Regions from separate parts of the Homo sapiens genome. Here all the other regions are linked to region 4. The links are contacts of gene promoters, found by promoter capture Hi-C in blood cells and fetal thymus (Javierre and others, 2016). All regions are on one chromosome and are shown on one strand. The core of a region is centred on a gene start or on the middle of the fragment in contact, and the rest is flanking DNA. Distances in the headings are between cores, read along the strand shown. Region 1 overlaps ATF6 (activating transcription factor 6). Region 2 overlaps ATF6 (activating transcription factor 6). Region 3 overlaps ATF6 (activating transcription factor 6). Region 4 holds the start of SPATA46 (spermatogenesis associated 46).

Region 1 (5,334 bases), core at 1-2,500, 530 kb after region 4:
CTCCTTTGATTTGCAGGGCTCACACTAGGGTTCATTCTCCTGGAATCCTGTTCCAACATGCTGAAAATAAAAAACAGGAAATAATAGCTGAAATAAAAATATGTCACACATATGCCTGCTACATGCAGCTGTGAAACAAACCACAATTCCTTTGCAGATCCATGCACGTAACAAAAATGCTAGGCATAGACGCAAGTACAAATAGGGTACTGAAGGTGTTCAAATCCTTAGCATGGTAACCTGCACATATCAAAAACAATTTTTCTAAGTATAAAAGTACCTTATTTATAAACTGTTTAAACAATAGTAGTGTTCTATATGTTTTAAAAACTTGATAATTACATGTATATATGAAGTAGAAATAAATACGACACACCTAAAAACAAATTTTAAACTCCAATAATAACTGAAATAAGAAGGCCTCCTGGATGGTGCAAACTGGTGTTTTCAATGAGAGAATACTTCAAATGAAGTAGGAATAAAAGTCAAATTCATTGTTAGCCTTTCACAATTCCAGAAGGCAGGCTATCAGATAAAGCTAAGAAAAAAAAATTTTTTAAATACTTCTATTTGTATTTATATGTAAAAACTTCTATTCTTTCTCCCTACCCTCCCTAATATCTTCACTCATCAATGTATATCCTCTTCAGAGGCATAAGCATTTGGAGAAAACAACAAAATATATACATATAAGCAAATACTGCCTACTTAACTTTTTTTTTTTTTTTTTTTTGAGACAGGGTCTCACTCTGTCACCCAGGCTGGAGTGCAGTGGCACAATCACAGCTCACTGAAGCCTTGACCTCCTGGACTCAAGCAATCCTCCCACCTCAGCCCCTCTGAGTAGCTGAGACTATAGGCATGTGCCACCACATCTGGCTAATTTTTATTTTTTTTAATTTTAGTAGAAATGAGGTCTCACTATGTTGCCCAGACTAGTCTCAAACTCCTGAGCTAAAGCTATCCTCCCACCTTGGCCTCCCAAAGTGCTGGGATTACAGATGTAAGCCACTGCGCCCAGCCTTAATTAACACTTTTAACTCATTAATAGTGCTTAGGAACTTGGCTCATCAATAAGACTTTGTGTGTGTGTTCGCACTTTGTTTTATGATGCAACCCACACAATTTACACTACTCATAAAATTCAACACAAAGGGAATCTCCCTAGAGAAGCACAAAAGATTCTATTTGGAGGGATAAAATGCAAGAGGAAAGTAAGGCTAATGAAAAAGGGTAGTTAAGGAGCCTGTGGTTCTAAAGGAAAAGCGGTTCTTTGAGATAATAGTAGTTTGTCTCCAAATTTGGGGAAATCAGTGTTGGGGGAAAACGGGGAGCAGACACACCTCTCTAGAATATTTTTCTGATCCCTTAATATATTTTCCATTCTCCTCAATTCTTCACCCCCAGAAATCATTGCTACCCAGTGATTCTCACATGGTATGCTTTAGCACTTGGGCATACTGCAAACTCTTCAAAGGTGTACCACCAATTAAAGCCATTGTGTAACATTTAATTTTGCTACAACTGAGGCTATATTTTGTCATAGCTGTATCATTCAGACTAAAGGTTTACCTGAGCAGTCACACATCAATATAAACCTTGCCACAAATGAGGTAAGAGACCTAGTGGAATGTCTGTCTAAACTTAAGAAAAGTCACCCTGATGAGTATTTAAGAAAACATGAGAGAAGCAGAAAACAATAGCAATTTGGGAGGGAAGTCAAATGAAGAGTGTGATGACAACTAAGAAATTTTATTTCTTCTTTAGGAAACTAACTTTAAAAAAAAAGTGTTTACTTTTTCTTTCAAGCATGGTGCCAAAAATTCTAATTATGAAAGTAAGCTATGAATAAAATCAAAGTTAAGAACTTTCCCCTAAGTTTAGAGAATCTCAATTAATTCAACCCCTACTGACCCCGCTATTGTTATTAGTGAAATATCCATATACTAATGTTCCTGTTTGGTGGAAGTACTCACTCCCTGATCCCTCCAGTATCTCTACCACCCTAATTATTAAGAGTTTCCCCTTGTTTTAACTAGAAATGTGCTTCCTTTTTAAAAAACAAAAAACAAAAAAACTTCCACCTTTTGATACTAGTTCTGGATTCTGTGGCTATCCAGAACAAGTCTAAGTAAGCCTTCTTCTAATGTCCAAAGACATCTAACATCCCCCTTACCCCAGGCTTTCTTTTTCAAGATTATAGTTTCTTGATTCTTTCACATGCTCCTCTTTACAGCATAGTCTGAAGTTCCTTTAGCATATTTGATCACTGTCCTATAAACATGCTTCTCAGAGGTAATGTCCAGAATTGGCCACAGTACTTCTTAGGTAGTATGACCACTACAGAATGGAAAAGGATAATTCCTCCATTTGTTCTAGACACTGTTGTTCTACTGATGCAGTCTAATATCGCATAGGCTTTCCTGGCAGTTATATTACACTCTATTTATATTGAGCCCAGTGTAATTAAAACCCTAAGTCCTTTCACACAAATCGATTTTGAACCATTACTTTTGCTTCTCTTCCTATCCCACCTCAACTCTGAATTTGTGTAACTGAGTTTTAGGATCCAGCTGAATAATTTATATCAATTCCTTTAAAAACACTTACCTACTAATCAATCAAGAACTTTTAGGCTCCTCATTAGCAAAAGAAATTCTTCCAAGAAAGTATCAGCATGCCATCAATATCCTGTACTGAGTTGTTATTAAAATAAAAAGCTCCTTCTAAATCTGTAAAAACGTAGGTTTATCTACTTATGAATTAACTGAAATACCACCTAGGTCAAAATTTCCCATCTTGACCATAAAGATATCACAAGAATGTTAAATGCTCTTCTAAGATGCAAATACAGTATATTTTAACAGTAGCTACCACTTTTGAGTACCTACTATGTACTAAGGAAATGAAGGCTCAAAGGAAGTTGAAGCTCAAAGAGTTTAAACAGTTTGCCCAAGTTTATGCTCTAAATAACTAAGAAAGTCAGGATTTGGATTCAGGATTGGAATTCCATCACTGCACTATGTTGACAACATTTCCCAGAATGAATGATTCATCCATTAATTTATTCATGTAGTAAATACCTATTATGTTCCAAGAACTATATTTGGTGCTAATGACTCAAAGATGAAAGATAAAAAAAATCAGAATACAGCAAGTCTTCAAACAATGCTGGTTCATGCAATGTCATTTTGTGATAACACTGATGACAAAAAAAAAGTCAATTCCCAGCCAAGGTCACTGTCTGTGTGGAGTTTGCATACTCTCCCCAAGTCTGCATGAGTTTCCTGTGGGTACTCCAGTTTCCTCCCACATCTCAAAGATGTGCATGTTAAGTTAACTGGCACGTCTAAATGGCTCCAGTCTGAATGAGTGTGCGGAACATGCGTGAGTGCACCCTTCAAAGGGATGGCACCCTGTCCAGGGTTAATTCTTGACTTGTGCGCCGAGCTACCAGGATAGGCTCCAGCCATCTACCACACTGAACTGCAATAAACGCATTGGAAAATACAAATCATTGTAAAATAAAAATGTGTACAGTATACAATAATCATACAAGTGCATGACAATAAATGATGTATGAAAGCTCTCAGCAAGCCTGCCATATTTGTGATTGTTTTTGAACTGTGTGGTAGGATGTGCTCCTTTCACTTTGAAAACATTTATTCCTTGATTTAAACCACCACTACTATAACCACTGTCACTCACTGATTCACCAAAAACTGGATTAATAATTATCTTTTTTTAAAATTTTTTATTTCCATAGGTTTTTGGGGAACAGGTGGCATTTGGTGAGATGAGTACGTTGTTTAGTGGTGATCTGTGATATTTTGGTGCACCTATATCCCAAGCTTAGCTCCCACTTATGAGTGAGAATATAACGCTGTTTGGTTTTCCATTCCTGAGTTACTTCACTTAGAATAGTCTCCAATCCCATCCAGGTTGCTGCGAATGCTATTAATTCATTCCTTTTTATGACTGAGTAGTATTCCATCATATATATATACCACAGTTTCTTTATCCACTTGTTGATTGATGGGCATTTGGGTTGGTTCCACATTTTTGCAATTGCAAATTTTGCTGCTATAAATATGCATGAGCAAATATCTTTTTTGTTTAACGACCTCTTTTCCTCTGGGTAGAAACCCAGTAGTGGAATTGCTGGATCAAATGGTAGTTCTACTTTTAGTTCTTTAAGGAATCTCCACACTGTTTTCCGCAGTGGTTGTACTAGTCTAGGTGACTTTACCAATGTTTGAGAACCATTATTCTAAACTAATCCTGTTTTTCACATCTTTCCTATCTCAGTTCCCTAAAAGGTACACATTTTTACAATAGATTCAACAGAAGTGGACAGTTTGGAAATAGGGACTGGGGGAGTTTGGAGGGACATGAAAAAGTACAAAGTGGCTATTTGTATGACTTATGGATAATTTATAAATTGAATTAATTCAGAACTATTGATACTTTAAGGTTTGTAAAGAATTCTTCTACTAATCATTGTTCTTTTAATGATTTTACTAACACTATGTAAACTGGCATTTCACCTCACAATTCATGGCTGTTAACAGGCAAATGCTTTGAGCTTAACTATCCTTGTAGTCTATCCCATCTGTATCCAGGCTGCTCTATAATCACTTGGCAGCTGTACTTACTGGAAATCAGTTTTAATGTTGATTGGTTTGGCTCATAAGTGGTCACTATTTTTCCAAGTGCCCACTTTGGTAATGATTATCACATTGTAATGACAATATACCCTTAACCATAGCTATTTCAGTAACTTTTAGCCTTTTTTGAGTTAAGGAGCTCAGACGCATTCAATGAGCTTCACAAAAATTATCTTATTTACATTACACAGAGTCAATAAAGTATTTTCAACAAGGGAGTCATGATGAAACAAAATTTAGGATCCAAATAGTCTGTGGGTCTCAATTTTATTATCTATCCATTGGCTAGAATATATTTTGAAGAGGTAATATATTAATAAATTCTGCTAAGAATCTTTTAACGTTTTTCACTTGTTTGTTTTTGGTTGTTATTATTTTTTGGCCTACATTCCCTGTAGTTTTTTTGTCTTAAAATGGAATTTCTCTTAAGCTAAATTACAGACAAGTTGATTGTCCAATTCAGCTAAAAAAACATTTAAATACTTGAACTCTATGAAATGACCCACAGAAACTAATTTTAACCATCTGAATAACTACAGGTTTGTATTTCCCTTATTTTTATTAACATCTGAAAGACAGGTAAGAACTTCATTTCGCTGCCAGAATTCAAGATTGTTTTAGTACGACTGTGACATCACAAATATTGAAAGGAATTTGACAGATCTTG
Region 2 (5,775 bases), core at 953-3,452, 590 kb after region 4:
AATAAAATAAGAAACGATGAATCCATACAGATATTAACAAATAAGTGAACAAATATAAAGTGTGATGATGAACAGGATATTTTTACATAGTCTTAAAGTATCTTTCTCACAAAATATGTATGGCATAGAGAGAAAAAGCAACTTCACAATGGAATAGGTTGGCAGATAACATCTATGAAGGGATCAAAGTGAAAATAATCAGTATTAGAAAAAATCAAAATTGGGTCATCAAAAGTTGGACACAGACAGCACTTCTGTGACATTCCTGCCACAGATATAAAACCTGAATATGATCCTAAAGAAACATCAGACAAACCCGACTAAGAAATGCTCTTCAAAATAACTAACTCCTAATCCCCAAAAGTGACAAGGTGAAGAAAGTCAAGGATTAATGAAGAACTGTTTCATACTGAACAAGATTAAAAAGACAAGATAACCACATGCAATGCTTGATTCTGAACTGGGTCCTTTTGATAGTCTAAAGGACACCTCTGGGATGTCTGGCACAATTTAAACGAGAGCTGAAGGTTAGATTATAGTAACATATTAATGTTTATTTCCCGATTTTGTGCTTGTATTATGGCTAAGAAATATCTGTGCTTGTAGGAAGTAGACACTAAAGTATTGGAGTGATAGGGGCATCGGACTGGTAACTTACTCTGAAATGCATAAGGAAAAAACAAGTTATTTGCAAGGTACTCACAACACTTCTGTGAATTTGAGATTGTTCCAAACAAAAAATTAACATAAGCAAAAAAAAAGAGTAAAAATATGAGTGAATTATTTTATAACCTCTCAGTGGTGAAAACCTTCCTTTGAGTGAACAAAAAAGCAATTAAAGAAAAGATCAATAATTTGGCTATAGAAAACAGTACACCTGGGGAAAAATAAACACCAGAAATAAAGCAAAGAGACAAAAGAAAAATTGGGGAAAAAATATTTGCAGCTTATTTCACAAACTAAGGACTAATAATCCTAATATATAATAAAGCACCTAAAATATTAAAGAGAAAAAGACCAATACAATTCAATTAAAAAATGAACGGCCGGGCGCAGTGTCTCACACCTGTAATCCCAAGCACTTTGGGGGGCCGAGGCAGGTGGATAACCTGAGGTCAGAAGTTCGAGACCAGCCTGGCCAACATGGTGAAACCCTGTCTCTACTAAAAATACAAAAATTAGCCGGGTGTGGTGGCAGGTGCCTGTAATCCCTGTAATCCCAGGTACTCGGGAGGCTGAGGAGGCAGGAGAATTGCTTGAAGCCAGGAGGCGGAGGTTGCAGTGAGCCGAGATCATGCCATTGCACCCCAGCCTGGTAGACAAGAGAGAGAGTTCATCTCCAAAAAAAAAAAAAGAACAAAAATTTGAAATGACAGTTCATTTTTTAAAAAGAAATGCAAATAGGCCTTAAACATATAAAACATATGAATAGATATTATTTAACCATACTTATAATAAAAGAGATATAAAACAAAACCTATTGTGGAGTGATGATGGGAAAACAGGCCCTCTTACATACTGCTGATGAGGATGTAAAATTTTACAACCCCTATAGAGAGAAATTTGGCAGTATCTAGCAAAATTCAAGTGTATTTACCTTGGTGTCAACAATCCCACCTCTTGAAATATATCCCAAAAATATCCTGGTAAAAATATAAAGTGACTTATGTACCAGGTTATTTACTATAGGTTATTTGAGTCTGGAAAAGACTTATGTACAGGTTAATTGGGTCTGGAAAAGACTAAAAACAACACAAATACTCATCAATAAGGAAATCACTAAATTAAGCATGATAAGGCCATGCAATGAAACATTATGTAGCATAATGGGAAAATTATATACTCTGAAATTAAGAGTTATCCTGCTAAGCTAAAAAAACAAGGTACAGGACAGGGTATACAGTATGCTACCTTTTGTAATTATTAATTTTTTAAAAAATTAAATCATTTGGAGAAATTGTGGGACCTCAGAGAGCTACCAATAGCAGCAATCAGAGAAAAGCTTCATAAAGGAAGTAGTTTTTGAACTGGGACTTGAAGGATGAGTTTTCCAAGACAAGAAAAAAATGGGGCTATTCTAGGCAGAAGAAAGAGGATGTGCAAAAACCTAGAACTGTAACAGCAGCAATCTCACTGCTGTTGTTCACTGCCAGCATCTGGAACAGTGCCTGGCACAGCGGTTGAATGAGTAGAGTGCATAGGAGCTCTCAGAGAGGAACTCTCACAGGGCTCAAATTAAGGGGAATGTGGAAGTAGGAGGGGATAGCAAGAAAAGAGACTGGAAAAGTAAATGGGGGCCAGATCATGGAAAGCCTAGTACTCTGGGAATTTAAATTTCATCCTTGTAAGGACTGGGAAGTTACTAAAAAGTTTTAAGCAAATGACTGATACAGTAAAGCTTGTGACACTGAAAGATTTCTCTTTGAAGATTCCACTGCTAAGAAAGGTTTGAGGAGTTGTAAGGCTGACCAGTTAAAATCCTATTGACTTAATCCAGGTGAGATAGTGATGGCCTGGCAGGGGCAGAAAAGATAAATCCTTGAATTAATATGTGCATATAACCACCAGGATTTAGTAACTAAATGTAGAGCCTGCAGGAACAAAGATACCACAATTTATAGCACATATAATATACTAAAATATTATTTGATTTTTTTATTCTTATACTTTCCCTTTCCCCATTCTAAAAAGTACCTAAATCAGGTACTTCCTTTTCCTGGCCTCAGGGCTTTTGTCTGGACACAGAGCAGAAGTGTTCTTAAAAGAGCTACCAGACTTCTATAAAAACGTGAGCCCCTTCAAAAGGTAGCACTAGGCATTCCCAAACTAAGGCAATCATTCTAGATGCTGTGACTAAAGAGATATAAAAACTGACCATCTTACATTCTTCTATGTCCATATATAAAGAATGTATATCCTAATAGGGAGGAGAAAGAAAGGGTGGGAGAAAGGACAGTAAGCCAATAAACAAATACTGGATACTGTTAAAATGCAATGAAACAAATGAAACAATGAAATTATGGAGGCATGAACAGAGGGGAAAAGAGAGCAAAACCAAAGGCACTAACAACTTTCTAGCTCCCACAAGGCTCTTTCTTGAGTCTCAGTTCCCTCAATAAATGAGACAATATAACTCATAGTAGTATTCAATAAATGTTAACTGCCTCCTCCATATACATATTTTCCAGATAGCATATTATAACCAAAATCATTGTAAAAGACTGGCTACTCACAGGAACATGCTGAGTTGAAGAATAAGAGTCCACTGACCGAGGAGACGAGACTGAATAACTTGAGGAGGCTGGAGAAAGTGGCTGAGGTTCTGCCTTAATATCTTTAACTGGAAAACATGGAGGAAAGGTTTTACCCACTGGACAATAAAAACTTATAATAAAATGAACAAGAAAGAAGGTAAAATCTACTTTTAAAATTCAATCAGATATGGAAGCTAAGGTCACCAAAATATAACGAGTGAAAATGAAAGATGCAGAAAACAATATATCTAGTATGTTTCCACTTGTGTTACAAATTATATATATATGTGGGGAGGGGGTATATATGTATGTCTGTGTGTGTGTGTATATATATGTGTACACTTGCATCTGCACTAATTCTCTGGAAGGGTAAACAGAAGAAACTGGTAACAGTGGTTGTCTCTGGAAAATAGAACTTGTTGGCTGAGGAATAAAAGCAGGAGACATTTTTCTACTATACAGATTTTTGTACCTTTTGAATATTTTACCATATGCAAAATATTATAGCTTCCCAAAAAATTTAAAAAAATAAGAAACAGGAAATATTTTGGAAAGCATTTTTGACAATACAATTCAAACTCATAAAAAATGTTCATATCTTTTAAACTATTAATTTATCCTATAAAAATGTACTGAGCAACTATGGCCCAGGCAGTATCCCTTGGTGTCAAAGATAGAATAGGGTGGGGATGGCAGACTGTGTTTTCCAAAATTAGCCATACGATATCTACCATCCTTCATGATCTTCCCTCATGATCTTCTACAATGTGATCTTGCCACTTTCCCACCAAGAAGTAGAGTCGATTTCCCCTCCCCAAGAATTTAGGTGGGCTTGACTCCTTCAATCAAGAGAAGATAGAAGTAATGCTATGTGAATTCTGAAGCTGGAAATGCAGCCTCTGCTTTGTGTGCTGGAACACTCATACTTGGAGCCTTTGAAGTCTGACTACCCTGAGACCACCATGACTGAGAACACCACGCCACACAAAGAGGCCCTATGCAGGCACTCCATTTAGTAGTCCTAGTCTTCAAGTCATTCCACCCCAGGTGCCACACATATGAGTGAAGAAACCTCAAGATGATTCTAGCCCCCAAATGTCAAGCTACTACAATCTTCAAATCTCCCCAGTTGTGGTCTGGACATCATGGAGCAGAGACAAGCCATCCTTGGAGCACCCGGTCAAAATTCGTAAGCACCCAGTCAAAATTCGTGACCCATAGATTCTAGCAATCTAATAAAATGGTTGTTGCTTTAAGCAACTAAGATTTAGTTTGTCAAACGATAAAACCAGAACACTGACTTTGTGTATCCCACATTCTATGAAGGCAAACAGGCATGAAACAGTATAAGTAAATACATAAAATGAAGAGGAATAGGTAGTGCAGAGGTAGAGAGGAATTTAGATAGGAGAATGTGCTGGTTATTTATTCACTGTCTCTCAGCACTAAGTCCACTTTCTATAATCGGTGATATAAATTATTCCCAGCTGGCATCCTTTTAGGTCCTGTCAATAGGGGATACTAGAAAAAGCTAGAAGGGAGGAGAAGGGATTTTTCTTCATTCTACCATCAGCTGTATCCCAGCACTGGCAATTTGCTCCAGGTTCTGGCTTCTTTCAGTATACTCAACCCCGACCTCATCAGGCCCCCTTAAAGATATTAGTATCAGCCAGGTGCTGCCCCTTCTTAGAAGTACATGTATTAAATGCATGGGACTCCTCCACCAAGTTCCTAGGTTCTGGTAACCCAGGCTCTTCCCTTTGATTCCCTAAGCCCTGTCTGGTTCTCAGGTTAATCTTATACAGAGACATTATTCATAATTCAAAATCACTATTTCTATTTCTGATATGAACTGTTCATTCATTACACTACTGAAACATAACTATGAAACTCCTCATATCCATTTTTGGCAAGAAATTTGTTTACATAATTGCCATACCAGAAGTAGAATGCATAACACCAGGAATCTTTTAACCTACCAGAATAGCCCAATAACCCCACCTAATTTTGAGTATGACCAAACTACAAAATAAAATTGATCTTTTTAAAACTTTTACCAGTGAAACACATAATTACCTGTACAGATTTGGTTGTTGATGTCCCAAATGTCTGACTCCCAAGGCATCAAATCCAAATCAAAATCAAGATTATCAAAATTGTTTTCCTGTAGGTTTCAAATCAGCAAAAGAATATTAAAAGAATAAAACATACACATCTTAAAATCAAACTGTGAGACACAATTTGGCACAAATAATTTAACTGCTATTAGCCAACCTAGTAAAAAGAATACTCTAAGTCAGTCTTGTATGAGAATACATCTTGGATAGCCTAGAGATAAAATCAATTCAGTTACTTGAAGCACAGCAGCAACAACTAGGAAAGAGGTAAGGGATTCAGTATTTAAAACATTTAGTTGGCTTCATTATTTTCTATGAGAATGACCATTACAGGAGTCAAAAATGTGTCTTTTATCTTAAGGGAAATCCAGCAAAATACATTTTCCCATTGCCATTAAGAAAAA
Region 3 (5,657 bases), core at 2,300-4,799, 580 kb after region 4:
CAATTCTAAACTTCAAAAAGACTGTGTCTGTTTGGCTTTTGTACTCTTAAGGGGGCTCTGTAAATTTAAAGTATTTTTAATGAAATATTTTAGACATGAAAAAAGATAAAGACTAATTAGAACTTTAAAAATATGTAGGTCAACGGTATATCATTGTTAAAAAAATTAACCTCATCTGAATATACATTCATACAATAAATGTAGACATTCATACATTGAGACTTTGCTGACAAAGTCTCAATTAACGTTGAAGAACTGGGGGATGTGTGAGATGAGAAAACATAGAACCAATAAGTATTAGCTTTTGTTTCTAGCAGTATTTATTGGTTCTACATTTTCTCATATTTTTAGCAGTGACATACTCTTGACCTATATATTTTTTAACTTCTAATTAGTCTTTATCTTTTTTCATGTCTAAAATATTTCATTAAAAATACTTTAAATTTACAGATCCCCCTTAAGAGTACAAAAGCTGAACAGACACAGTCTTTCACACCAGAGAACTAATAAAGGATGTCTGACTAATAGACCAACATATAATTAATTGGAATATGTTTAGAGATTATAAAATGGGTCAATGGCATACAGTGATGATTGTCAACATTAAGATGCTCATTATTCAGATAGTAAGCCTAAAAGTAGAAAAAAAAAAAGGCAGGGGGGTTGCTCTTCTGGTTTTTAAATACAATGATTGTATCAAAAAACCTTATGTTTAGAAGAAACCTTTCTATATTTTTCCTGCACCTGTTCCAGATAACTCTTCTGGAACAAGCAGAACAATTCTATTTTCCACATAACAACCTTCCTTTCCTGGAAGATGGCTCCCAGGTCTACTTTCCATCCTCTCTTCTTCAGTTTACTGAATCATTCCAACCTTTAACCCACTCCTCTACCCCATGGTTTCTAGATACTCTCCCCATCCTAGCTATGCTTTTCTGGACTTTTCCATGTTTGGGATGACTTAGATTAATATTGTTAATATTTTTTAACAACAGTGATATACTGTTGACCTATGTATTTTTAAAGTTCTAATTAGTCTTTATCTTTTTTTCATGTCTAAAATATTTCATAAAAATATTTTAAATGTCCTAACATATTACATAAAGGCAACTTTGGATATTTTCTATTATAAGTTTCATTTGGGGGTATTATATAAGAAACATTCAAGTTCATAATTTAAAAGAGTATTAAAAGGAAATCATCATTCTCAGTAAACTATCGCAAGAACAAAAAACCAAACACTGCATATTCTCACTCATAGGTGGGAATTGAACAATGAGAACACATGGACACAGGAAGGGGAACATCACACTCTGGGGACTGTTGTGGGGTGGGGGGAGGGGGGAGGGATAGCACTGGGAGACATACCTAATGCTAGATGACGAGTTAGTGGGTGCAGCGCACCAGCATGTCACATGTATACATATGTAACTAACCTGCACATTGTGCACATGTATCCTAAAACTTAAAGTATAATAAAACAAAAAAAAAGAAATTTCAAAGCATTATTTTTAAAAATCCTTTTTCATCATTCTTAACCTGGTTGGTCTCCCATGAAAATCATACTCTTTTCTTATTGGTCACACAACTTTTTAATTGAAAATATCACAGAAAGCTTTTGGATTTTTGTTATTGTCATTTTTTTAACATATTGTAGAAATTTTTCCATGCACCAAAAGGATAGAAAAATAAACACCCAGCTTCCATCATTATCAACATTTTGCCAATCCAGTTGCCTCTATCCTGTGCTCACCACCTTCCCATCCCAGCAACATTGTTTCATCTTCAACTGAAACACACGCTATGTATTAGAGCCTATTATGCCATAAGCATTGTGCTTACCTCTTCTAGTCCTCAAAACAAACCAACATAACAGTCAAGCCTAATCCTGTACTGTCCATGGTCTCTAGTCTCATAGCAACACTAATTTTCCTATTCCATGTCTTGACATGCATTGTTTTCAATACCTATACAAACGATGGGACTCTTATTCTAGAAACTGGATGTTCTACTTTCACCAGACAATATTCCTTTGTTATGAATTTTTACAATATTGCTGGCTGAGATTACTGTTTATGCAACTGTGGAGCAATTTTATAATTAAATGGGTCACTGACATGCTGGTTAATAAATTCTGGCAGACAGATCAGACAGTAGTCTGATAAACAACCTTGCATAACCCACAGGATTTTAAAATTACTTTTCAAATGCATTCTACCTAAAGAAAGGATGAAGTAGTAATATTAACAACTAGTAGTATCCATTTTTATTTTAAAGAAAACATACACACTTTGCTTTCCCAATCGTAACTTTAGAGAATCCACTGTTTGACTATATAGCTTTAACATTCATTAAATTTTAGGACCAAGATGTTCAATTTAATACATAAGTTATTTCCAATCATTTTGAAAGAAAGCAAGAGTTAGTTGGCAAGTGCAGTAACTGGCTTTAGAGAGTGACAGGTCTTAGGAAACTATGTGATTTATAAATTATAAGAAATCCCTACAACATGCTAGAAAATTTAAAGGTTTGCAAAAATGGGAAAGTACCAAATAATCACTAAGAGACAGAATTCCTAAGAGTAGCTAGTCATCATTATGAAGTGGTGAAAATACTTCAAAACGGCAAGGAAGAAAGCTAAATATAAAACCTACCTAAAAAGTAATCTATAGACTCTTATCTGAAGATCGCTAAAACATTTCAATCAGGAAACGTTGAATCTGTAAAATATTAGTGGATGACTGGGTTGAGGGTGTAAGGGCTTGAAGAGAATAATAAGAGGGTTGGTTCTAAAGAAGGAGTAAAGAAGAGGGAGGTATGCATACTTTGCTTTTCATCAAACCACTTCACTTTCAAAAACCTTTTCACTTAGATTCTAACGTAGTAAGCCTTACCCTAATTTTCCTCCAAAGACTAGATGTGCAATTCAGCACACTCTTTTATTTGATGCAATATAAGAAACTCTAAAAAAAACAAAAACAAGGCAACAAAAGCAAAAGGTGTTTTTTTGTTGGTTTTTAAATCAGGCATTAAGAGAAGCACTAAGTTTCAAAACTTACATCTGAACCGACATTTCTCATGGTACTTTGTAGGACAGGTTTAGTCACGGAAAGTTTTCCATTCACTGGGCTATTCGCTGAAGGGGCTGGTACCACATTCACCACGTGATTAGGGAGCTGTGTGACTCCCCCAGCAACAGCAAGGACTGGCTGAGCAGAGGGCAGAACTCCAGGTGCTTGAAGTTGTACCACAGTAGGCTGAGACAGCAAAACCGTCTGGCCTGCGTTAGAAAAAAGAAAAGGAATCAAAGGGTACACAACTACTGTGGCAGGGGAAGCAGCTTATAATTAGGTCTTTTCTGCAGACGTAATGGGTAAGATCAACACCAAGGGATTGGACACCATCAATTAAAACATTGGATCAATAGCAGCACACGCTTATGGTGACTTTGTTATGTTTTTAATGTGACCAACTAAATTCATCTCTTTGAGTTATCATTAACAATATACTTTAATATACTTTCTTATTTATCTTTCTCAACTAAACAGCTATCAAATTTGCTGTAATCCCTAGATTTCTAAGAATTAACCTCTGAAATTTATTAGTGCTAAAAGGATTTGTCTTATTATAAATAACAAATCTTTTACACTGAATATGGAGAGTCATGTATTCTAAATTAATAGGATTTACAAATGCATACAATACCAAAAATATCTGAACATAAACTTAGTAACTCAATATTAGAAGAAGAAGGAGCTACAGGCCATGCACTGTGGCTTACACCTGTAATCCCAGTGCTTTGGGAGGCCAGCAGTTTGAGACCAGCCAAGGCAACATAGTGATAGCCTGTCTCTACAAAAAAAAATTTAAAAATTAGCCAGGTATGGTGGTATGTGCCTCGAGTCTTAGCTACTCAGGAGGCTGAGGCAGGCAGATCCCTAAAAAGGACAAAAAAAAAAAAAAAAAAAAAAAGACTACAAATACCAAAAAACTTAAAACCATTTGAGATTAAATCTTAGCTAACAATCACGGTAAACATAAATCTGTGATTCAAAATAGTCTGTAGATGATACCAGCCCTTTCCCTCTTCCCCCAAAAATGGCCTTCAATTCTTTTCTGAGTATTCAGAGGTATCATTATTTTAAATTTATGCTAATCTGACGAGAATTATTAGAGGTTGAACATCCTTAATCCAAAAACCCAAAATCCAAAATGCTCCAAAATCCAAAACTTTTTGAGTGCTGACACAACTTCACAAGTGGAAAACTCCACACTTCTGGTCCTAAGTATTTTGGATAAGGGATACTCAATCTATAATAATGACAATGAAGATGATGCTGTTAACGCTGCAGAAAAAGTGCCTATAGATGACATGGTAAAAATGTGTGATGGGCCTAGTGAAGGACTAAAGCAGCATACAGTCATAACAGAAAAAGAAATCATGTCAGTTTACAAAATCAAAAAGAGACTTCTAAAACAAAAACTTGTTAATGAGGCAGATGACTCCATAGAAAACATTTTTAGAAGTCATCCAGCAGAATGCCTCCTCATCCCTAGAGGACCCACTTCCAGTCTCTCAACTGCTTCTGATGTTTCTTCTCACCTGAAGACATAAAATAGAGGGTACAGTAGGCTTTTAATGAAAACAGCATCAAAGGCAGAGACTGAAAGCTGCCATTTTTTGTTGTTGCTGTTGTGTAGTAGCTGACACTGGTATTCTGGTGATTCTACTGTCCTGCCTTGTTACTCTGCACACATTATTTTTTCACTGTATTAATGGTATGTCATAATTTTTGTTAAGTTCTTAGGTGTGAATTTGTGAATAAGTGTAAGAAAATGATTGCTTGTCAGTAGCATATGAATTCAGAGCCAGGAATGATGGTGGTGCCAAACAACTACAGATTGTCCACAGGAGATAGTGACAACTGTGCTTTCTGATGGTTCACTGTATGCAAACTTGGTTTCATGCAGAGAATTATTTAAAATATTATATAAAATTACCTTCAGGCTATGTGTATGAGATATACATGAAACATAAATGAATTTCATGTTAGACTTGGGTTCTGTCCCCAAGATATCTCATTATGTATATGCAAATATTCTAAAATCCAAAAGTACCCAAAATCTGAAACACTTCTGGTTCCAAGCATTTCATTTAAGGGGTACTAAACCTGTACCATTAACCTAAAGACTTATACAACTCATAACACTAATCTATTAAAAATTTTACTTGCCTGCTAAGTGTTTCCTTTCAGATCTGGCAGATTTTTATAAGGTGCTGAAAGCCTTGCCTAACATCCACAGCTGCTTGAGCCTATCTAACAAAATGAAGGTACTAAAATAACTGGCAACTAAAATATCATGTAAATTTATAATTTGTTTAAGAAAAAAAAAGCATTATGCTTTCAGACAGGTTGACCCATGTAAAACTCAGCTCAATATTTCAAAGGATCGGGGAAAACTAAAAATCAAAATAAAGCTTCAGAACACCTGTTTGTCAAGAACATCTGTCTTGGCTAAAAAAGATAACTTATAAAAGCAAAGCCCTTGTTTCAGATGGCCTCAAAAAACACACTGAAAGTAGCAGAATTTCAATAAACAGCATTTTATCCCAGATAAGAAGATCTAAAAATAATTTCATGGATTTGGAGTAGATA
Region 4 (5,743 bases), core at 953-3,452:
CCACAAAAAAACAGGATATCTTACCTGTCCGAGAAAGGGGCTCGGAAAGCAGGTGGGAAACAAACAAAAGAAAGACACATTTTACGTAGTGACCAGTCACTTTGAGAGTGTCACCTCCTGCCTGGGCCACCAGCACCAGCATACCTCGGGGGGACACAGCACACAAGACAGGGGACCTGCTACGAGGAGTGGTGTGCACCCTGGAACCGCCAGGCTCCCACAAACTTTTCAGTGACTAAACCAAAACCGGGTCGCATTTTAAAAACTCTACACAGGCACTGAGAGATTCTGCCTCCCATATTTCCCCCCAGTATTTTAAGCTCCCTTTACTTTAAGTCTGAGGTTGCAGTGGGAGAGTCTGAAGTTGGCAGTCGGAGAAATGTGATGGGTCAAGACAGAATGCAATTCCAAGTCCTCGGGGTCCTGTGTGCATCACTCACAAGTATGCTACTGTCCACATGTCAGTCACTGGGTTTTAGCCAGGAAGATGTTCATCCATTCCAGTTTAGAGTCTAAACTAATAACATGGGTAAACCAAGTAGCAGAGAGATTTGCCCAATATCACACAGGTAGCTCATGGCGGAGCAGGGTTAGAAGTCACATAAGCTGATGCCCAGACTCATGAGCTTTCTCTACACCATAATGGACCAAATGAAATTGCTGATACCCCCCAAACTGCCAAAGTATGTGGCTTCAACTTACTTTCCAATACATGCTAATGTTCCAAACCAGGCTATCTGGGAGGAACACGAGGGGAATCATGTTCTCCCATTGTCCTTCGAATGTTTCAGTACCGTGAATAAATACACACAGGAAGACAACTCTGGGCTCTCACGTGCAGAAGCTAACTCACACCTCACTCACACATGCTCGACAGCACTGCAAAACAAGCCCATCACTATTTCCAGAGCGGCCATAGCTCCCCATGCAGCATAAACATACCTGCCATCTAGATCTGCAGCCCTGCTCTGTATCTAGTTGACATGTTGTGATAATCTAGAAAGGGGTGTCTTCAGCTTATCTTCCAAGTGTCACAATCATCTTTCACCTTATTCCACACCTCGTTAGTGCACAAGGTTGTTATAGGACAAGCGAAACGAAGAGGCAACCTTGCCTCTCTGGAGTCCCAGAGTCTCCCCATCAAACTGACTTAAGCAATGAGCAAAATAGTATTGAGTAAGCCACCCATTTGTGCTTTAGTCACTTGCTAAAAAGAGCACCAACCACTGAAAACAATATTTGGCCCCTATTCTTAGGAAATACACATTGAAGTACTTAGGTATAAAAGGACATAGTGTTTATAACTTACCTTCAAATAGTTCACAGAAAAAATTAAGTATATACACATACACATGGGGCAGGGGGCAGGAGGAAGGGGACGGATACAGCAAATGGGGTAAAATGTTAATAGGAAAATCTGGATACAGGGCATAAGGGTGTTCTTTGTATTGATTTTATTTTTTGCAGCTTTTAAGATGGAGTCTCGCTCTGTCACCCAGGCTGCAGTGCAGTGGCGCTATCTCAGCTCACTGCAGCCTCTGTCTCCCAGGTTCAAGCGACTCTCCTGCTTCAGCCTCCCAAGTAGCTGGGATTACAGGCACCCACCACCACGCATGGCTAAATTTTATATTTTGAATAGAGATGGGGTTTCACCATGTTTGTCTAGCTGGTCTTGAACTCCTGACCTCAAATGATCCACCCGCCTTGGCCTCCCAAAGTGCTGGGATTATAGGCCTGAGCCACTGCACCCAGCCTAATTTCTGCAACTTTTACAAATTTGAATTTCCAAAGAAAATGTGAAAAATATATACACCTCAAAAAACAAACTAAAACAAAACAATAAAAATATTTGCTGACAGAGATTAGGCTGATAAAGGAGAAGAAAAGGAAGGAGATTATTCAGACAGGACAGAGGTTTCCAGGGCTGGAGGGCTGGGGGTAGACAGTGTCAACACAGAAAACTGATGATAACAAAGATAAAAGGGGACAAATAGACAGCATCACTACAGTATCTCTACTACATTCTTCTCTCTGGGTATTGTCAATCAGGGCCTGCCACTGGGCAATGGCAAGTCAAATACAATCTTTACACATTTTAATCTTGCTTTCAGTAGACTCCATTCATCTTCCAAAGGGTAACCTAGTTGGTAGTGGAATCATGTGCCTTGTGACATCAACTGTGCTCAGAATGTTTATCCTCTGGACAAACCAGCCAGCCTCTCCAGAGCAGGCGTGTGATCTCTGTACCCCCGCAGTGGTCAGAATATGGAGAACTTCTCACTCCTCAGCATCTCTGGACCTCCAATCTCTTCCTCCGCCCTGAGTGCTTTTCCCGACATTATGTTCTCTCGTGCCACCAGCCTGCCAGGTAAACTTTGGTGCCACTAGGGCCACAAAGATGTGGTTTTTTTTGAAGCTTTTAATTGAGTACCCTACCAGATCATGTTACAGGACCATGATTTAGTGAGAAAGTCAAATTACGCATGGGGAGAAAATAATTTTTCAAAATGCTGCATTTGTGGTAAGTAGTTACTGCTGTGTATTGATTTTTGGTAAGGGAAGAAAGGGGAAAACTTTTTTTTTTTTTTTGAGACAGAGTTTCACTCCTGTCGCTCAGGCTGGAGTGCAATGATGTGATCTCGGCTCACTGCAACCTCTGCCTCCTGGGTTCAAGTGATTCTCCTGCCTCAGTCTCCATTTATCATCAAGTTTTTCCCCCTAGATTGTGCATGAAATCTCAAGGTGGCAGTATGTCTACATAGAGTAGAAACTAGTTTTAGCTCTGTTTTGACAAGTTTGGAGAGGATTTGGAGTTAGCCAAATCAGAGAAGCCTAAGCAGCAGCGTAAACTGATGAGCACATCATGGAATAAAGTTGGACACCCTGAGGACTCCCTGTTCAAAATACGGTCCTTAGACTTGCAACGTCTGCATCGTCTGGGAGCTTGTTAGAAATGCAGAATCTCAGGTTCCCACCCCAGATCCACTGAATCAGCATCTGTGTTATTAACAAGATCCCTAGGGGATCTCTATGCACAGTAAAATGGAGAAGTACTGCTCAGTGGAGTAGGCCTCCTAAGCATCCATTTGTCTACATATATGACATTTATAAATTTGTCCCCCAAACTGAACACAGCTGCTATTCTGGGATTTGAGGCAGGTCAGCTTTTTGTCCAAGTGTTAGCACTCCAGGGTGTGCCGTGCAGTGATGGCCCACGGGAACCCTGACTGTGGGTATGAGATGTTTCAACTGGACAATCCTCAAAGCGGGCATGGAACATTGCTCTGCAGCCTGTGACTCTGGGTCCCAGGATGCTCAGGAGACTGGCAATGCGGAGTGAAGCCATCCGCGTGATGAGATGCAGGAGGGTTAGGTGAGGGGCAGGCCAGGCGGAGAGGTGTCATCTGGGCTACATCATAAATCCCACTTTCCAGAGGATCTTTCTGAGGCCTGAATGAAATGGCCCCATTCAGAATTCCCCAGGATGTCATCCAGAATAGCTCTGCCTGGCTGAGTTTGAGAGGTCACTGTTCTGTTTCAGCGTTGAGATGCCTTGAAGTACAGAGGTTGAGCCCCTAGGTATGCCTGGGGGAGTCCCAGAAAGTGGAATCCCAACCTTGCTCAGCTCACCAGTGTTTCTTCTATAACCCAGACATTGCAAAGACAGCAGTACCCACTGAGGCATCCAGCCCAGCTCAGGCCCTGCCACCCCAGTACCAAAGCATCATTGTCAGGCAAGGGATACAGAACACAGCGCTCTCACCAGGTGAGGACTTCTCTGACTCTGGGCGGGAATGTGTGAGAGGCTAAGGATGAAAAGGGGCTGCTTCCCTAAGGAAGCAGAGGTGTCTGGAAGCTGGACCCCCATGCGCGGTCTTGTCACCTGCAGCCTCCTATCTGGCCCTTCTTCCTTTGGTAGACACCCACAGGCCTGGGGCTCTCGCCTTGCCTCCCCTCTCCTGTCTCTGAAACTGGTGTGCAAGAGCAGTTTCTGGCTGAGTGGGCCGTGGAGGGATCAAGATGAGCAGTGAGGCTGAAAAAAGGGTCACAGCCATGGGTGGCGAAAAGAGGGACTGTGGGAGGCCGCCGGTTTGGCTATCCGCTGGGTCACCTGTCTGTGTCTATCCTTAGAGGAGTCAGTGGACATGGTGTCTCCAGGAGGGGAAGGCCTCGACAAATACCAAGGCTTACCAACTAAAAGCAGCCTCTCCTGCCCCAAGATCCAACGGCCCTTTGTACCCCTAGAAAAAGAATGCAGTGAGAAGGAATGCCCTCGGCTGCTCTTACCACTGTCTTGCGTCTGCTCTCAGAACTGCAATCGTGGTGGGGTGGAGGTAACCGAGGTCATGCCTGATGTTTGCCTTCTTACCTTTCTGCTCCAGCATCCTTGGCTCCACTGCTCCCTGCCAGAGACTCAGACCTGGTCCTTTCCTTTGCAGACTGCAGCTTGGGGGATACCCAGCACGGAGAGAAGCTGAGGCGGAACTGCACTATCTACCGGCCCTGGTTCTCCCCCTACAGCTACTTCGTGTGTGCAGACAAAGAGAGCCAGCTGGAGGCCTATGACTTCCCAGAGGTGCAGCAGGATGAGGGCAAGTGGGACAACTGCCTTTCTGAGGACATGGCTGAGAACATCTGTTCGTCCTCTTCCTCCCCAGAGAACACTTGCCCTCGAGAAGCCACCAAGAAATCCAGGCATGGCCTGGACTCCATCACATCCCAGGACATCCTAATGGCTTCCAGGTGGCACCCAGCACAGCAGAATGGCTACAAGTGCGTGGCCTGCTGCCGCATGTACCCCACCCTGGACTTCCTCAAGAGCCACATCAAGAGGGGCTTCAGGGAGGGCTTCAGCTGCAAGGTGTACTACCGCAAGCTCAAAGCCCTCTGGAGCAAGGAGCAGAAGGCCCGGCTGGGAGACAGGCTCTCCTCCGGCAGCTGCCAGGCCTTCAATAGTCCTGCTGAACACCTTAGGCAAATTGGCGGTGAAGCCTACTTATGTCTCTAGAGAGATGCCAATAAAGTTAGTCACAGCCTTCTGTCCAGTCTGAGGTCACCCCGCACAGCCTGCTGTCCTTCCCAGAACCCGGCTCTCATCACCTTTGGCTAATGGTTGCCTAGCAACACCAGGCACACACCCTCCCCTTTCTCTCTTTTAAAAATAAAGACAATACTTGAAGTTTGGGAAAATCATCTAAGATAGAGGTTCTCAAAGGTGCCCAGCTGGCAGTACCAGCAACCCCTGGGAACTCTCAGGCCCTCCTCAGACCTACTGAATCAGAAACTATGGGTCTGGGGCTGGCGGTCTATGTCCTAACCAGCCCTCCAGGTGACTCTGATGCAGCTCAGCTGTGAGAAGCACTGCTCTAGGATTCTGGCCTCTGCTTGGTCCCTATGTGGTCAGTCCTTGCCCCACCCTGGGAAGAAGGGGCTGGATGCCCTTTCCTATTTGCATGGGGAAGAATCTCTGCAGTTTTAAAGGCTTCTTTGACGGTAGATCTTCTGAGGGGGGAATGTGGAGGAAAATATGCCTCTGAGTATAAGGCAGGTAAGAGGCAGATGGGGCTGAGCTCACCCGGGACTGAGCTCTCAGGCACTACCATCATTCACTTAGAACAGCCATCCAGTGCTGGGGCAGAATAGAATCAGTTTTGACCCAGGAGACGTCTTTTCTTGGCTGCTTTGAGCCAGGTGAAAATAGGCAGGTAAACATGGGAACCTATTGCTTCCTGTTACCAAGTAA

What was found. The method cuts DNA at HindIII sites, captures the fragments that hold promoters and counts their contacts. A CHiCAGO score of 5 or more calls a contact.
Region 1: a contact is called between a fragment that was not itself captured here and the fragment with the promoter of SPATA46 in region 4, in 4 of 17 cell types (M2 macrophages, M0 macrophages, M1 macrophages and 1 more). The highest score is 8.7, in M2 macrophages.
Region 2: a fragment that was not itself captured here is called in contact with the fragment with the promoter of SPATA46 in region 4 in 2 of 17 cell types (M0 macrophages and M1 macrophages); the score reaches 10.1 in M0 macrophages.
Region 3: a fragment that was not itself captured here is called in contact with the fragment with the promoter of SPATA46 in region 4 in 2 of 17 cell types (M0 macrophages and erythroblasts); the score reaches 5.4 in M0 macrophages.

Annotation. Positions count from the first base shown.
Region 1 is chr1:161,841,175-161,846,508 of GRCh38, reverse strand. It overlaps ATF6 (activating transcription factor 6), which reads right to left. Exons shown (of 16, transcript NM_007348.4): 10 at 1-60. Among named protein-coding and RNA genes, the nearest start is that of ATF6, 78 kb to the right of the region's middle. The HindIII fragment of the contact is 5,206 bases long and covers 1-3,853 here.
Region 2 is chr1:161,781,555-161,787,329 of GRCh38, reverse strand. It overlaps ATF6 (activating transcription factor 6), which reads right to left. Exons shown (of 16, transcript NM_007348.4): 3 at 5,331-5,418; 4 at 3,234-3,340. Among named protein-coding and RNA genes, the nearest start is that of ATF6, 18 kb to the right of the region's middle. RefSeq lists an enhancer at 5,032-5,121. The HindIII fragment of the contact is 396 bases long and covers 2,005-2,400 here.
Region 3 is chr1:161,799,675-161,805,331 of GRCh38, reverse strand. It overlaps ATF6 (activating transcription factor 6), which reads right to left. Exons shown (of 16, transcript NM_007348.4): 7 at 3,060-3,280. Among named protein-coding and RNA genes, the nearest start is that of ATF6, 36 kb to the right of the region's middle. The HindIII fragment of the contact is 3,864 bases long and covers 1,618-5,481 here.
Region 4 is chr1:162,373,313-162,379,055 of GRCh38, reverse strand. SPATA46 (spermatogenesis associated 46) reads left to right here and starts at 2,202. Exons shown (of 3, transcript NM_182581.4): 1 at 2,202-2,368; 2 at 3,653-3,766; 3 at 4,440-5,743. The coding sequence starts at 2,266. The coding sequence ends at 5,008. It also overlaps a transcript of C1orf226 not described here. The HindIII fragment of the contact is 3,530 bases long and covers 1-2,418 here.